Regions from separate parts of the Homo sapiens genome. Here regions 1, 2, 3 and 5 are each linked to region 4. The links are contacts of gene promoters, found by promoter capture Hi-C in blood cells and fetal thymus (Javierre and others, 2016). All regions are on one chromosome and are shown on one strand. The core of a region is centred on a gene start or on the middle of the fragment in contact, and the rest is flanking DNA. Distances in the headings are between cores, read along the strand shown.

The links. Contacts are between HindIII fragments. The CHiCAGO score rates a contact against its expected background, and 5 or more counts as called.
Region 1: a fragment that was not itself captured here is called in contact with the fragment with the promoter of MTMR6 in region 4 in 1 of 17 cell types (fetal thymus); the score reaches 5.1 in fetal thymus.
Region 2: a fragment that was not itself captured here is called in contact with the fragment with the promoter of MTMR6 in region 4 in 1 of 17 cell types (non-activated CD4 T cells); the score reaches 5.2 in non-activated CD4 T cells.
Region 3: the fragment with the promoter of PAN3 here is called in contact with the fragment with the promoter of MTMR6 in region 4 in 2 of 17 cell types (fetal thymus and naive CD4 T cells); the score reaches 5.5 in fetal thymus.
Region 5: a contact is called between a fragment that was not itself captured here and the fragment with the promoter of MTMR6 in region 4, in 1 of 17 cell types (fetal thymus). The highest score is 5.3, in fetal thymus.

Annotation. Positions count from the first base shown.
Region 1 is chr13:27,451,767-27,455,186 of GRCh38, forward strand. No RefSeq gene overlaps it. Among named protein-coding and RNA genes, the nearest start is that of MTIF3, 2.9 kb to the left of the region's middle. The HindIII fragment of the contact is 1,320 bases long and covers 910-2,229 here.
Region 2 is chr13:27,616,764-27,619,738 of GRCh38, forward strand. The region is part of intron 1 of LNX2 (ligand of numb-protein X 2); the gene reads right to left. Among named protein-coding and RNA genes, the nearest start is that of LNX2, 2.3 kb to the right of the region's middle. The HindIII fragment of the contact is 1,587 bases long and covers 908-2,494 here.
Region 3 is chr13:28,136,505-28,139,946 of GRCh38, forward strand. It overlaps PAN3 (poly(A) specific ribonuclease subunit PAN3), which reads left to right and starts at 2,041. Exons shown (of 19, transcript NM_175854.8): 1 at 2,041-2,583. The coding sequence starts at 2,154. It overlaps PAN3-AS1 (PAN3 antisense RNA 1), which reads right to left and starts at 2,670. Exons shown (of 2, transcript NR_029383.1): 1 at 2,043-2,670; 2 at 339-1,901. RefSeq lists silencers at 1,886-1,995, 2,186-2,265, 2,306-2,705 and an enhancer at 2,788-3,082. The HindIII fragment of the contact is 2,991 bases long and covers 740-3,442 here.
Region 4 is chr13:25,286,028-25,289,341 of GRCh38, forward strand. MTMR6 (myotubularin related protein 6) reads right to left here and starts at 1,461. Exons shown (of 14, transcript NM_004685.5): 1 at 1,197-1,461. The coding sequence starts at 1,220. RefSeq lists enhancers at 841-1,461, 1,165-1,504, 1,605-1,774. The HindIII fragment of the contact is 4,901 bases long and covers 800-3,314 here.
Region 5 is chr13:27,424,714-27,427,695 of GRCh38, forward strand. GTF3A (general transcription factor IIIA) reads left to right here. Exons shown (of 9, transcript NM_002097.3): 1 at 1-225; 2 at 2,379-2,479. The coding sequence starts at 25. Among named protein-coding and RNA genes, the nearest start is that of GTF3A, 1.6 kb to the left of the region's middle. RefSeq lists silencers at 11-70, 171-250 and enhancers at 341-410, 1,361-1,580. The HindIII fragment of the contact is 2,120 bases long and covers 191-2,310 here.

The sequences.
Region 1 (3,420 bases), core at 320-2,819, 2.2 Mb after region 4:
TTATGAGCCAATTATTATTATTACCCATTTTACAGATGAGGGAACTGAAACAAATTTGCCCAAGGTCGCACAACTAGTAGCAGAATCAAGAATAAAAAAGCCAAAAAACCCCAAACCCAGGCAAACTTTAAATGTTCCTTGCATTGCTAGACTGAAGTAGTGAGAGAAACAGTAAACAGTACGAGTCCATGAAAACATTAAAAGGATGTGAAGTATGTACAAGTAACTGAAACATTTAATGCCCAAACTAAAGACTTAAAATTTGCTAAGGTAATAGCACAGGTAGATTCACACCAAGTAATCACTGGTAACTGAAGCTACCGGCCAGCATCCATTTGCAGTCCGTCTTTGAAGGCAGCTGTGTCCAGAGCAGGTGGTTTAGGAAGCTTTCTAGACTTCCATTGTCAGATGTCTCCACGCCTAGAAGATGGTGCTTTAGTGTTCCTGGGAGGAGACATGCAGAGATGGGGTGGCAATTACAGACATGCCCACAGATGGAGAGAAGCCATTTTTTTCATCTTTTCCCTTGAACTCTTCTTTGACCTCCAGCCGAAATGGAGCTTGGCAGCTTTTGTGGGGTTTTTTGTTTTTTTGTTTTGTTTTGTTTTGTTTTGTTTTTGGAGATGGAGTCTCTCTGTGTCGCCCAGGCTGGAGTGCAGTGGCGCGATCTCGGCTCACTGCAACCTCCACCTCGCGGGTTCAAGCGATTCTCCTGCCTCAGCCTCCCGAGTAGCTGGGATTATAGGCGCGTGCCACTGGGTCGGGCTAATTTTTGTATTTTTAGTAGAGACGGGGTTTCACCATATTGGCCAGTCTGATCTCGAACTCCTGACCTCAGGTGATCCACCCCACTCGGCCTCCCAAAGTGGTAGGATTACGGGTGTGAGCCACCACGCCCGGCCACTTGGAAGCTTTTAAAGAGTCATTGAGAGCCTTGAGCTGTGCTTGGTGGGGGCAGACTTTGAAGATCCTTGAATAAAGATGAAGAGGTTTGGGGAAATGCTATTACTATGCCACAGATCTTTAATAAACTACTCCGTTATGTACATAGAAGAGGACTCTGAGACATGTGTAGAGCTTTCCCAATTGTTATCGTTTCTACATATAATTTAACCCCCTCAAAAAATGTAACTCAATAAGACTCAAATCATGGTGACTCTAAAAATGCCTATATTTTCTATTACATAGTAATTTCTACGTTAATTTCCATAGCATGCCCATGAACTTTCTCTTTCAATGAATATATTGGTGATTTGCTCTGATGAAGGAATAATGGAAATATCCCGTCCCTCTCTTTGCCTGTTAGCTTTCCAAGTCCTCCCACTTTTCCCCAACGCCGAGGGGACCTTCCAAAACAGGATTGTATGTGAGATTTACTTGCTTAGCCCAAGGTCATTGAGGTACAACATATCTGATCCACAAAAGAATCAGTCTGTGGGTGATTTCTTTAAAAAGTTATGAACACTGGGCTGCGTCTTTATAATGCCACAATGACTAACAATTCATTTAAAAATCTAATACTAATAAAAATCCTGGTGGTGGTTGTTTTTTTGTTTTGTTTGTTTGTTTTTTGAGACGGAGTCTCACTCTGCTGCCGAGGCTGGAGTGCAGTGGCACCGTGTCGGCTCTGCAACCTCCGCCTCCTGGATTCAAGCAGTTCTCCTGCCTCAGCCTCCCAAGTAGCTGGGATTATAGGCACCCACTACCACGCCTGGCTAGTTTTTATATTTTTAGTACAGACGGGATTTCACCATGTTGGCCAGGCTGGTCTCGAACTCCTGACCTCAGGTAATCCACCTGCCTCGGCCCCAAAAAGTGCTGGGATTACAGGCATGAGCCACCATGCCCAGTCAAAATCTTGGGTTTATTTTGAAGATACGAAGCATCTTCAAACTTTAAAGCCCATGTGGGTTCAGATATTCAGCATATTCTTTAACAAATAATTGTTCATAGATTAGATACTCCTCCCTCTCCAGATTATAAACTCTTACCTGGGCAGTTTTGCTAAAATTGGGGGAATTTAAGTCTATTATGTGTGAGATCCTATGTAGTGCCAACTAAATGTAGCTGAGAGCAGTTATCTTAAACAGCAGCAACTCTGTCATTACAAGGCCAGTTTAATAGCCAAAAGGGTCCATGCTCTCCTTAGTTGATGTTTACAGACTTGTCAAGAGTCATAGAAACAAGGCATGCAAGAGGCTTTGGCTGAGTGTTAGGTAACTCGTTCAAAGCTTCCTGAAGATACTGTCAGCCCAATATTGTGTGTCTATTATTGTCTGTTAGAAACTATTAAAGCCGAAAGCCTTCTTATGAAATCTCTACCATTTTCCTCAGGCAGGACTATAATTAATCCATTCCAAACATGTAAAACATCTCTATATTTAAAACAAGCCAAAACAAAACTCGAGGCCAGGAGATTTAGCTTCTCATTTCAATGTTTTATAAGACGGGAGTCTTTTCCTTTACATAACCTAAATCCATCATGTTGCTACTTAGTCTGGTTCTGCAGTAGAGCTGGAGAACATCTGGTGACCACATCTGTGTTATAACCCTTTGTGTGCTCTCAAACTATTTGCTAGATTCAAAATAAATTTCCTTACCATGAGTGAGATTTCCCATAACATTAGACTCCAGATTAATCATTTCTCTTGTCAGAATATGATGGCCTCAGTTATTAAAACGTGGTGGTTGTGAATCAGCAAAATGTCTAAAATGAATGACATATTGTAATAAAGTTTTAAAAACTTTCATATCTGCCAAATAAAAATATTTGTATATGGAAGATCCACTTCTGTGAAAAGTCTCTTGTGCAACTGCAGAAGCAGAAAATAGGTTCAGAAGTTTCATTTGGAACACAACAGAGACATGTCTTTCCATTTCAGAGGTGTTGAGTTTTGAGGTGATTCAGTTAACTTTGATCGTTTTGAAACAATGAAAATAATTTCTATTACCATCATAGGACATCATGCAGAACAACAAAGAGCTAGTACAAAGTGTACCATGCTGACTGTTGTGTAGATAAAGCAAAACAGTACCAAATGATTAGTTAGCATTTTACATTTAGAATGCAACCCAGCCGGGCACAGTGTCTCATGCCTGTAACCCCAGGACTTTGGGAGACCGAGGCAAGCAGATCATGAGGTCAGGAGTTCAAGACCAGCGTGGCCAACATGACGAAACCCCATCTCTACTAAAAATACAAAAAAAAAAAAAAAAAAGAAAAAAGATTAGCTGGGCATGGTGGTGTGTGCCTGTAGTCCCAGCTACTTGAGAGGCGGAGGCAGGAGAATCCCTTGAACCAGGGAGGCGGAGGTTGCAGTGAGCCAAGATTGCGCCACTGCACTCCAGCCTGGATGACAGAGGGAGACTCCATCTCAAAACAAAAAAAAAAAAGAATGCAACCCTATACTATTTTTAAAC
Region 2 (2,975 bases), core at 451-2,950, 2.3 Mb after region 4:
TTTTGAGATGGAGTCTAGCTCTATCACCCAGGCTGGAGCGCAGTGGCGCAATCTCAGCTCACTGAAACCTCTAGCTCCCGGGTTCAAGCGATTTCTCCTGCCTCAGCCTCCTGAGTAGCTGGGATTACAGGCACCTGCCACCACGCCCAGCTAATTTTCGTATTTTTAGTAGAGACAGGGTTTCACTGTGTTGGCCAGGCTGGTCTTGAACTCCTGACCTCGTGATCGCCCGCCTCAGCCTCCCAAAGTGCTAGAATTATAAGCGTGAGTCACTGCACCTGGCCAAAAAATTCCTCTTAATAACTTCTTAGAAGGCTAATACACAAAATAGCCACCTTTTCTGAATCCAACCAAACAAAATAACTTATTAACCACAGATTTTCCTACTGCTTTGTATTTTCTGAGGAAAAGAAACAGGTGCCAGGAAAGCTAAAAGGGATGTCTTTTGTAAGACTCTCAGGCCCTCCTACAGGGTCAATTTAGGTAGGCCTGCCCCAGTCTTCTAATTCTACATGCAAGATACATATGTATTACTTTTTCAAACAACACTGCTTCCTAAATAGAGGAGAACCTATGAAATGAGACCTGTGATTCTTTTTTAAAAACCTAGATGCATTTGGATAGAGGAAGGTGGGCCTGTGAACTCTAGCCCTGTAAGCAGGAAGGAAAGTTAAATAGTTCCTCATAATACAATTTAAAGATATCGGGTGGCAATTGTAAAGGAAAGAAAGAAGAGGGGAAGAAGGCCAAAGAGCCAACCAGATTACAAGAGCCTGGAGTCCTCCTTTCTTTGATGGTGGCCAAAATATATTTTAAGGATAGAAATGCCTAATATTCAATGTCAACACTTCTGATATCGCTCCACTGTGAACCCCTTCACCCTCCCCTTCCTCTAAATCTCTCATAAAGCTTACCATACTCATAAAGCCTTTCTGTGAACTCTTTTTCTTTTCTATTCTTTCCTAGCTCCTGTGAGACACAACTATCCAACAACTGCATCATGGATCTCTCAACCATCCATTTAGCACCTCCTTAGATTAGTCCAAAACTGAACTTATCTTCCCTTCTACACCTCTACCATCAATTGTTTTTAACTGCTCCTTCTCATATCCTCCAACATTCCACTAGCTCATTAATGTCATCATCTAAAGGAACAACTAATATTTACTGAGCACTTGGAATGTGCTAGGTACCCTGCCAAAGGCATTACATGCATAATTCCTCAAACCCTACTCAACAGGTACGACAATCATTTCCCAAATGTTAGGAAATCAAAGTTCTGTCAGGATAGTTATTCTAAGGGTAAGTAATAGAATTAGAATTTGACCCGTTTTAATTTCACAGCCAGCTTACCCAGTACATGTCAATCAATGCCTGAAGTCAAACAACCCAGGATTCATCCTTCCCTCCTTAAGCCTACCCAGTCACTTACCTAGTCCAGCCTCCTAGTCATACCTCTTAAACACCACGTCATTTCTCCTTCCACTGCCAGCACACTAGCATTTACTAAGTCCTTACTATCTGGCAATCACTATTCTAAGTAATAGACATGTTTTTTCAAGTTCTATCCCCCAAACTCTGAGATGACAAACCTAAGGAACAAAGAGGTTTCAGTGTATGACAGAGCCTGATTCCACCCCAGGTAATCTGAATAGAGAATCCCTGAGCACTTAACCCCTCCATTAGAACAGCCTCCAACTTAGTCTCCATATCGCCCATCTGGAAGCCCACCATCCTCCAGACGCTGCAGATATCTTTCTGGAATGCTTACCCGTTATCATGACATTCTCCTGCTTAAAATTAGCAGCTCAGTATCACTGACTGGATAAAGTCCAAATTTCTTAATCTGGTATAAAAAATCCTTCATTTTTCTGTTCAAGTCAATTCAGTAAATATTTTAGTGCCCAATGTAAGCAAGAAAAGGTGCCAAGTGTTCTGAAATGAATAATACATGTCCCTGACTACTACCTCCACCTCGGACACTGGGTCCTTCGGCCAGACAAGCCCATATGCAAAGCTCGTAATACAACAGCCCAAAGACACATACATTTATTTTTAAGTGGCCTGCGTGCTACGTGCCTACAATGTACGAAATCCCAAACCAATCTGAAGACTAAGTGCCTACGTAACACCTATTCTTACAGGTCTCCAGGCAGAAATGCTCCCTAAGTTCAAATTACTTCAGGGTAACTAGTGGGATAAAGGCATGGATCAGTTTCCAAATGAGAAAACTGGGCAAGAAGCAACCCCCGCCATCAATGGCTGGCATGCAGTAGGTACTTTATCAGTGGCTAAATGAATAAATAATGAAAAAATTTCAAAGTTGATGAGAGAAACAAGATATATGGAGAATGTAACACACAAGTGGGCCGAATTAAAAGTGATGTTATTCTACTTTGGTTCTCATTTGGCCTACTTTTACCCCATGGGAAAACTCACATGTGGGACTCGGACAAGCTAAAAAGCCAAAACTTTGTTATTCATGGCTCAACAAAGCTTTGACAAGCCAAAAAGGATACCAGATTCCCGCTTCCTTCTTTACCTGCCAAAGTCCATTTTCTAAAGAGGTGTGGGGGTGGGAATCAAATCTAGCAAAGTAAATAAAATTGATCTACTGAGATCCAACTTCATTAGTGCTGCATCGAAGTACATGCAAAAGAAATATCAAAACCTGTCCTGGGAAGAAGGCCAATTTACAAGTAAGTACTATTGCCGCAAGAATGTGAAATTCTTAAAGGCAGTTCCAATAAGCTGGAGCTCACAAGTGTTCCTCCTCCTGCACCGCCACCGCTTTTCACTCAACTTTGTTTCTGATTTCTGTGATTTTAAAAAGCATAATATACACAGCAAAGCCCATGCATAAGTGTACTTTAGCTCCTGGTACAAACGAACGTCTGGATTCATAAACTTAACGTAAACTGAAATACTAAAAGAAACACTACATGAGTCAAAAGTCCTTGTTTAAAACGTGGCAT
Region 3 (3,442 bases), core at 791-3,290, 2.9 Mb after region 4:
CTCCCCAGTAGCTGGGATCACAGGCGCTCGCCACCACGCCCAGTAATTTTTTTGTATTTTTGTAGAGACGGTGTTTTACCAGGTTGGCCAGACTGGTCTCGAACTCCTGATCTCAGGTGATCCACCCGCCTTGGCCTCCCAAAGTGCTGGGATTACAGGCGTGAGCCACTGCGCCTGGCCAATACTATTAATAATAGTTACAACCTACCGAATTCTTATTAGGCATGGGACAGTTTATATACATTATTAGTTATACTTTATGAAGTAGGTACTATTCTTAATCCAGGTGTACAGACAAGGCACAGAGAAATGAAGCAATTAACTGAGAGGAACACAGCTATTAAAGTGTAGGCACTTTAATCTGTTTCAATCCAGATCTGTCTGAATTCAATGATGTTCCCAAACTTGGAACATGAAAATATCAACTTTCTCCAAGAAGTCTGACATGTTTAATATCCTCTAATAGCAAATGTGATAAGGTTAGCACTTAAGACACTGGTTTACAACGGACCTGTGTACTTGATGCCTCCCCAACCGGAAGATAAGCCATCTGAACTCACTTAAGGCGGCATGTTCACTTTTGCTTCCCCAGCTCCACAGTTAAGTGTACCACAGTTTCTGGTACACGTAATGCGTGTTAATAAAGATTTGTTGAATAATCAAATAAGCGAAACTGCTTTTAAACAGAAAGCCATAATACAATGTTATTACCTTCGAATTTGGCTAGAGAACATCACCAAGCTTACCAGTTTGTGATCTAGACTCCACTTTTCCCCATTTTTTTCAGTGTGCTACTTTTGCTTATATCCATTCTTCTGTGACTTTGTTTGCCACAATTCCTTAAATACTTCCACCCCTCCTTTTCATAACAGCGATCTGCCGTTTGTGAACCTCTTTTACAGAGAAAAACTAGAATGTTACTTTTCCTTTCATAGCAATTCTTTAAAATTTCTGAAAGCCTTTAAAAGGGTATTAGCGCAAACATCAGAGATCGCTGAGGTTAAAACTATCTTTTAAAAATGAATTTCACCGTCTCAAAAAAAATAAAAATGAATTTCAAATCAAGGCTAGGCTGATTGGAGAAAAGCAACCTAGTATATTTATAAAGGTCTTCCAGTGCTGTCTAAGCAGTGTTGTCCCAGGTGGCATCCTATTTTTCATAATTTACCGAAGGCCCTTGGTAATATAAATACAGAGAATAACAGGTGCTGCACTGAGCAGGGGGTCTGTCTAAATCAACCTTTTTGGCTCCATTTTTTGACAAAGGGCCAAGAGGTTAGCGTAATCGGTCCAGTAGTTCTCATTACCTTCGAGGGGAAGGGGAAAGAGGAGAGGGGCGAAGAAAGGAAACGGGGAGAGGAAGTGTGGCAAATAGAAGATATTCTTCAGGTAGAGCCAGGGCTCGGGCCGCGTCCCCAGGTGGCCCCTCCAAACGACCGTTTACCTTGTCAATTTTCTCTTTTCAATGAAAAAAAAAAAAAAGACATCTGGCTTTTTAAGTAAGAGAATATACAAATAAGGAAGGTATCAGGTCTCGTGAGAATTCGGCGCCAGATCCGCGTCCGGAACCCCACCGAGAGCCGCCGGTCCAACCGCCGATAGCTCGCGGATGCCCCCGGGGGCCCGACGCCGGCCAGGCTTCCCCTAGCGCTCCCGCTACCCATAAGCCCTCGCGTCTCAGCGCGCACGCGCAGCGGCGACGGCCGTCTCAGGAAGAGGAAAATGGAATAAACAACTCGGAGGAACCAGAGCGCGAGAGAGCGAGTGGAGGCAGAATTTAAAAATAAACCGGCCCCTCCGCCTTCCCCACCCGCTTGCCGCTGCCGCTCCCTCTTCCCCTGCCCGCGCCCTCGAAGTCCCCGTCTGGGCCCGCGCGCTCACCCCGTCGTCCCGCGCGGCCCCTTTAAGAAAAGAGAACGAGAGAGTGAGTGAGAGAATCCCAACTCTCCCCCTACCCTCCCTCCTTCTACCCCCTCCTCCCTCCCCTCTCCCCTCCCCCTTCTCCCCGGGCGGCTCCGGCTCCCGCAGCGGGACAGACCCACCCGCCCAGGCTTTTATCCGGCACCGGCAGCGTCTTCCTTTCCTCCCCCGTCTATGGTGGTGGCGGCGGCGGCTCCTCGGGCGGCGGCGGAAGACGAGGCTGCGGCGTTGCCATGAACAGTGGCGGCGGCCTCCCGCCCCCCTCGGCCGCCGCCTCCCCTTCCTCCTCCTCGCTGGCGGCGGCGGTGGCGGTGGTGGCCCCGCCGGGGGTCGGGGGTGTCCCCGGCGGGGCGGCGGTAGGAGTGAAGCTGAAGTACTGCCGCTACTACGCTAAGGATAAGACTTGCTTCTACGGGGAGGAGTGTCAGTTCCTGCATGAGGACCCTGCCGCCGGGGCTGCCCCGGGCCTCGGCCTCCATAGCAACAGCGTCCCCCTGGCTCTGGCTGGTGCACCCGTGGCCGGCTTTCCGCCGGGAGCCGTCGCGGGCGGGGGAGCTGGGCCGCCCCCCGGGCCCAAGAAGCCGGACCTGGGGGACCCGGGGACCGGAGCCGCAGCCGGCGGAGGAGGCAGTAGCGGGGGACTCGATGGACCGCGGCTGGCAAGTGAGTGTTTTTCGGGCGGGGCGGGCCGCGGCGGCGGAGGGCAGGCCTGGGCCGGATGAGGCCCTGCTGCCGACGGGAGCTGAGCACGGCCCGCGGGCTCCCCCCCTCACCTCCCAAGGCGGTCTGAGAGGCCTAGGCCGGGCCTGAGCCCTCCTTCCTTCTTCCTGCTTCCCCTCCCCACTGCCTTCGGCAAGTCGGAGAGCGCGGGGAGGTTGGGTTCCCGGGAACGTGGGTGGGAGGACTGGGGTGATGTGAAGGGGGGGCGGGGAGGAAGGGGGATGGGCTGTGGCGTGCGGAGTGTGAGAAAGGGGGTGTCGTTTCCGGGGGGTGTGGAAAGGGGCTGGGTTTGCAGGCACATGTGTTTTGCGTGTCCTTGTGGAGTGGCGTCTGCAGAGTGTTGAGGTTCCCTAGTGGGGAGGGGTGTGTTTGTGTGTGTGTGTGTGTGTGTGTGTGTGTGTGTGTGTAGGGGGCGGGAGGTGAGGGGCGGGCTTAAGGCTTCGTGGAGTAGGTTGAAAGAACGGAAAAAGTTTGTAGAAGGCTTGCGGGAGAAAGGTTTTGCAGGCAGGAAATGCTTTCTAAGGATTAGGAGGGAGCGGACTGTCGCGTTCAAAGTGTGCTCAGGTTTAATCGAGAGTTTAGAGTAGGGATTTCACAAAGACGCATTTCATCTGAGTTTCCCTGAAAGCTAGAATAAGTTTGCTGGTGTCAGCTGGGATCCTGTCTTCTATAGCTTTGTATCAAGCAAACTCAGCATTGTGTCTTGAATGCATGTCATGTGCAGCCTGCGTTTATGTGCGACTGAGCACTTGGGTGGGGACATCTTAAGGCTGTTTATATTTCTTTTTCATGTGTTGTTGTT
Region 4 (3,314 bases), core at 211-2,710:
GACTTAAGCACCCTTCCATTTTCAAAATTTAAGTACCCACAACTTGAATTCTCAAGTTATTTTATCTTTCTTCTCTTAAAAAAAAATGTTAAGGGGTTAGTTTTCAGAATCTTCAATTTTACTAGATACGGTATGCACAATGTTAAAGACAAGCTCCAATAAAAATTTATGTATACCTTTAAAAGGTTTGTGAAACATTTAAAAAATTTTTAAAAACACAAATTCTTCTTGGAACAATGAAGATAACGAACATCTGTGGTTCCCTAAATGAGCCGTAATTTTAAGATGGGCAGCAACTAAAGGGCTTCAGCTTTGCCAAAACGTCAAGAGGCTGCCTTGCAGTGGGCTCGCAGTGATTTTAAAATGTTATTCTTCTCGTCTCGATTTATGTTTTTCTCCCTCTCAAAGTTAAACTTAAATGTCGTTGGAAACGTAATTTGGTAACATTCTGATGTCATTTCCTTCCGTTTTTAAATTTGTAACGAAATAAAAATATTTGTTCGTTCTCAAAATGAAGGTCTTCCACACACAAAAATTAAGCATGGAGTGCAATAAGGTCAATCGAATAAAGCTGCATCCGACCTTTTAAAATATGGAATAACATTTTTCCCTTCTCCAGAACTCTTGACTACTGACACAGGACAATGCCTGAAGTATGAAGCACAGACACGGAAACACCGGATGCGAAAGACTGGAGACCGAGACAGCAAAGGGAGGTGGAGCGGAGTGCTGATCTCGGTTCCTCCAAAACTCGTACTGTGAATCTGTGACACGGGACAATGAAATGTGAGCAAGGACAAGCTTACACAGCATCATAATGTTAATTTGAAGACGGTTTTCCGGTTGATGAGGCAACGAAAGGCTGAAAGACTCCAAAGTTAAAGGAGCCCCAATTTTGCCCGAGAAAACGTAGAGCTAGGAGGGCGGTGACCAGTTTTCCCAGACTTATCTCTACGCACTCCAAGATGCTGAAAGTGGGACCCCTGCTCCTGTAGGTACAGGAGGCCTCTGCACCCCGCTTGGCCCAAGCTAACCCTGCCCTCCCAGACCAGGCCTGGCCAGACCCTCCCGCCCCGGGCCGGGTCTCCGCCGGGCCGGCTCCCAGCCCCAGTCAGGCCAGCAGAGCCTTCGTCTCCTCCTGCCTCAGCCGGGTCAGAGCAGGGCCCCTGAAGACTGGCGATCCCGCGCCCGACTACCTTGGTCGTCCGGATATGCTCCATCGCAAGGAGACGTCAGCCGGCAGCCGGTCTCACAGGCGTACCATACGGCTACAGAAACAGGGCGGTGACAGCGACAGAGAGCAAGCGGGAACTCCCTCCACCAGCCAGCGCCGCGGGTCTGTCTGCCGGCCCCGGTGGCGTCAACGGCGCAGGTGCAGCCGGTGAGCGCCGTCTCCTAGAAACACTTCCCCAAACCCCGCGGCCTCCCGGGGGACTCGGGGCAGGCAGACAGAGCGTGTGTGGACCGAGAGCGGCTTGCTGGTTCGTCCCGGACAGCGGCGGATCCCACAGCGCCCCCTGCTGGAGGAGGCCGGTACTGCTCACCACCCCACCCGAGGCGGTCTTTGTCATCCCGCCGAGCGGACGCGCGGGGCGGTCGGGGAGGAAGACTGCGTGAGAATGGATCCCGAGTAAAGGGTTCTTGTGGGGTGAGGGCAAGAGTGGAGGATGTTCTGAAGTCCATCGCCATACCACTGGACAGCACCAAATTTAGTTTGAGCTGCAGTTCTACTCATAAGAATGTATTCTAAGGAAATAATCAGATTTGGAGTTATTATTCTAAGGAAATAACCAAATAAGGAAACCAGCCTTATTTGAAACAATCAACTCTCCAATCCTACGGATTCCTTATGTAAAGTATGATGATTAGCTAGTCCTCAATCTGGTCTGGTGTCAGAGTCCCGCCTCCTACCTCAATTTCATACGATGTTAGCACCAGCATCCATTAAAACTCATCCTGTAGAGGGATATCACATAACGAAAATGTTAATGCTGCATTACTGAGTGAAGAAAAAACTGACTATGGAACAATAAGTTCAATGTAGCCGTGCTCTGTAATTTTTATTTATGTAAACAAAAAGTTTACATTTCTAGGTGAGGGTTACAGGTAATTTTTGTTAGAACACGTCTAATGTGGTACTTCTCAGCCTGGAGTGAGTTTTCTCCCCGGGGGACATTTGGTAACATCTGGAGATATTTTTGGTTGTCTCAAATGGTGGTGGTGGGGGGGTGGCGGCGGGGGGCAACTGGTGGGTGGAGGCCAAGTCACAAGTCGGCTGCTGAACACCCTACTAGGCACCAGACCAACCCCCCAACTACAGGGAATTATCCGGCAGATGACAACAGTGCAGAGGTTGAGAAACCCTGCTCTATGCCAGGCGCGGTGGTTCACGCCTGTAATCCCAGAACTTTGGGAGGCTGAGGCGGGCGGATCACTTGAGGTCAGGAGTTAGAGTCCGAGAAACTCTGCTCTACGTTTTGTAAGTATTCTGTACTAAGCCGGTTAAGGTTTGTAATCTTCATCTTTCATACTGTGATTGGTGTTAGAAAAGCCTAACATCTAAATTTTCTTTTATAATTAAAAATTTTGTTTCACTTATTTGTTTCATTTTGTTCAAGTTGTCTTGGTTTGTTTTGTTTTGAGTGCCTACGATGTTTCAGACAGATTGCCAAAGCAATGGAGATGGTTATTAAACACAACAGCCTTTGCGGTGGAGTTGCTGACTCCTCTAAGCTAAATATGTAATAAGAGTTACATTAAACCACCTAGAAACCAACCTTAGTACAGTATCACATCCACCCCCTCCCCCCGAAAAAAAACCCCACAAATCCTGCTCAGAAAAAAAAAAAAATATATATATATATATATATACACATATATATATATATATATATACATATATATATATATACACATATATATATATATAGAGAGAGAGAAAAGTAATGTAGGTCTTTACTGAGGATTGCTTTTTGAGAAAACAGAAAGAGGTGAATTGTATAGCATACAGCAAGACTTTCTTAACAAAACTTTTTATATCATTTTCCTCCCAATTTACAACTTCCTCCTTCCCCATTCCCCTACAGATTATCCTCCCTCTTCTCATCTCCTCACTTCCTGTGTCCTCTCTTTACCAATTCTCACAGAGAGGCAATCATAATGATGTCAGGTGACCAAATGTACTGAGTGCTTTACGGGTATTCTGAGGAAAATGCTATTGCTTTCTTTATTTTAGAGATGAGACAAGCGAGACACAATGAAGTGAAGTAACTTGCCCAATATCACATAGCAGATAAAGCCAAGATCCATGTTAT
Region 5 (2,982 bases), core at 1-2,500, 2.1 Mb after region 4:
CCTGGGCTTGGAGGCGCCGGCGCCCTGGATCCGCCGGCCGTGGTCGCCGAGTCGGTGTCGTCCTTGACCATCGCCGACGCGTTCATTGCAGCCGGCGAGAGCTCAGCTCCGACCCCGCCGCGCCCCGCGCTTCCCAGGAGGTTCATCTGCTCCTTCCCTGACTGCAGCGCCAATTACAGCAAAGCCTGGAAGCTTGACGCGCACCTGTGCAAGCACACGGGGGAGGTGAGGGGGGCGAGGCTGCCAACCCTGGGCCTAGGGATGGCGCGTGGCCCCGGGGTAGCCACTGCAGTCGTGGCCAGGGCCGCAGGCCCCGCTGTGCAGCGCGTTCAGCTTTGACATCCAGGACTTGGGGAAGGAGCTGAGGAAGTAGACAGGAAGTTGTAGGACCTTCGTTCTGCGACCTTGATATCCATGGCAGGGGCTCGGGATTTACTAAGCAGTCATTGATCGTGAGTCTCGGCCAGCCAAGTGCCTCCCGTAATCTGCAAATAAGTGTGAGGTTTGAGGGGGCCCACCGCTACTAGACACCTGCCAAACACTGGCCCCTGGAGCTGGTACAGAAGATGGGTTACATGTACCAGGGGTCGTGAAAGCAGCATGTGCTCATTTCTTCGTAACTCCACACTGGAGAGAGCAGTGAGCAAAACAGGCAAACCCAAGGTTTCTGCTGCCATGGACCTTTGTTCCTGGGTCGAGCCGACCACAGGATAGGTGGGAATGACATGCAGTGTTGTGGTCAGGAAAGGCCTCTCTGTGTGAGCCGTGTAAGAAGGAAGGATCTAGCCATGCAGACATTTGTGCTAGGTAGAGAGAACACAAAGGGAGCCTGTGACCCTTGGGGTGGGAGGCAGGTGGGTGTGTTTGGGTGCGGAGATCACCATATGAGGTCTGAGAAGTAGGCCCATTAGGAGTTTGGATTTTATTTTGAGGGCAGGAGAATGTCAGATACCATGATATGACGTGGCAGCCCATGTCACACACAAGTGAGGAAAACGAGGGTCATGGAGGTCAAGGAATCTGCCCAGCTTCCCAGTTTTTGGCAGAGCTAGGCTTCACACTGCCTCAGCTTAAAGCCCTTAATTTCTTAAACCACTGGGCTGCAGTCCATACCTTTGCCCCTTGCACCTCCTCTAATTTATGGGCCACCTTCTCCAGGTGTCCTCCGGGGCCTCATTCCTTAACCTCTCCAGCACTGGAAGGCCGACCGCTTCTTCCTTGAGACCTTCTCTGGTTCTTTTCCTCTTCCTCGTCTGCCCTTTTCGTTGGATCCTCTTCTGCCCTCTGCATGTTCCACCCCGCCCAGCTCCCTCTTGCGGTCTTACATAGCCACCGGCATGACTCATAACATCCTTTATGCTTTGCCCCTCTGCCCTTCCTCTTGCCCGTTCTAGCCTCTAAATTCTGGGCTCTGTATTACCAGTAGATCCACGTAAGAGCTTGCCTTTCCTTTTAGACCGGTGTGCTGTATTTTGGATACTGGCGCTACCAGTTTCCTTAATACAGGTTGAAAAACTTGGAGTCATCTTTGTTGTCCCAGATCTCTCATGCAGATTAATTTGACAAATGTTTATTGAGCCTACTCCACGCCTGCCGCTGTGCAAGGTTCTGTGGCTCCGCCCCTGGTGGTATGTAGCTCACTGTGTTCCTGTTTGCTTGTTTTGCTCCTAGTACTCTCATGGAGGCCTCGGTGCCTCCCTCCTGGACGCCTTGGTAGTATGCTTTTCATAGTTTGATGCACCAAACTGGTTATTTGGTTATTTGGGGTGTGTGTTTGGCTTTTACTATAGGTTCAAAATGAGTCACCCCCTCCCAACTCCTGGGTTACAAAAGGTGGTTGCATTTAGGGTGTTGAGCTGTTTTCTTTGCTTCGCCCTGGCACCTGTGAGCTTTTTCAGGTGTGACACACTTTCCTATAGCTGTGCTTGGCATTATCCTAGCACAGACCCTGGGCTTGTCTGGGATGAGACAGGCCTCCCTCGTTCCTCTGCCCTAGGCTTGCTTTTTTACATGTTAAATCATGCGGTGGTGGGGATCCATGCAGACAAGCCATGCTAACAGCCAGGGCGTCTTTAAGAGGGGGTTGCTGTGAAAGCCTGCTGCCGGGTTGGGAGCAGGTTAAAAATGCTATGCCTGCTTATTTTAAATGCTGTTCATGGAACAAAAATCTGTGTAGTGACTTTGTGAGAAGTTGTGATGTTTATGTTGTGTAACTTTGTGCAGGAACACTGCGTCTTGCAGTGGGTGCACAGCTCTGAGTAGAAACCACCTCTTCATAGGAAGCCTGTGGCCTTAACACTAGGCAGTTTAAGCTTTTAAATAATACCAGAGTTACTAACTAGTGCAGAAGTGACATGCTTTTTCTTTTTTCCTGCTAGAGACCATTTGTTTGTGACTATGAAGGGTGTGGCAAGGCCTTCATCAGGGACTACCATCTGAGCCGCCACATTCTGACTCACACAGGAGAAAAGCCGTTTGTGTAAGTAGAGACCTGTTTTTAGGCTTTTGAAGTGGGTTGTGTTGGGCATATAGACCCAGTAAGAAGATTGATGTTAACTCACGAGATCAGGAATGTGAAGCCTGGCAGGGCTCGGTGGCTCATGCCTGTAATCCCAGCACTTTGGGAGGCGGAGATGGGCAGATCACTTGAACCCAGGAGTTTGAGACAAACCTGGGCAACATGGTGAAACCCCGTATGTACAAAAATACAAAAATTAGTCAGGGATGGTGGTTTGTGCCTGTAATCCTAGCTACCCAGGAGGCTGAGCTAACATAAAATGCTCATGGGTGGGGACAAGCTAAAGTATATCAACACAATGGGATACCCTACAGCCAGGAAAATGAATGCAGATGCTCTCTGCAAAGCCATGAGAAAATCACCAGGGCACTTTAATTGAAAAACCAAGGTGCAGAAGAGTCCTCTTTAGGCTACTTTTATGTGTGTAAAAAAGCTAGGGGGTAGGGGGAGGGGTGAGTAGTGGG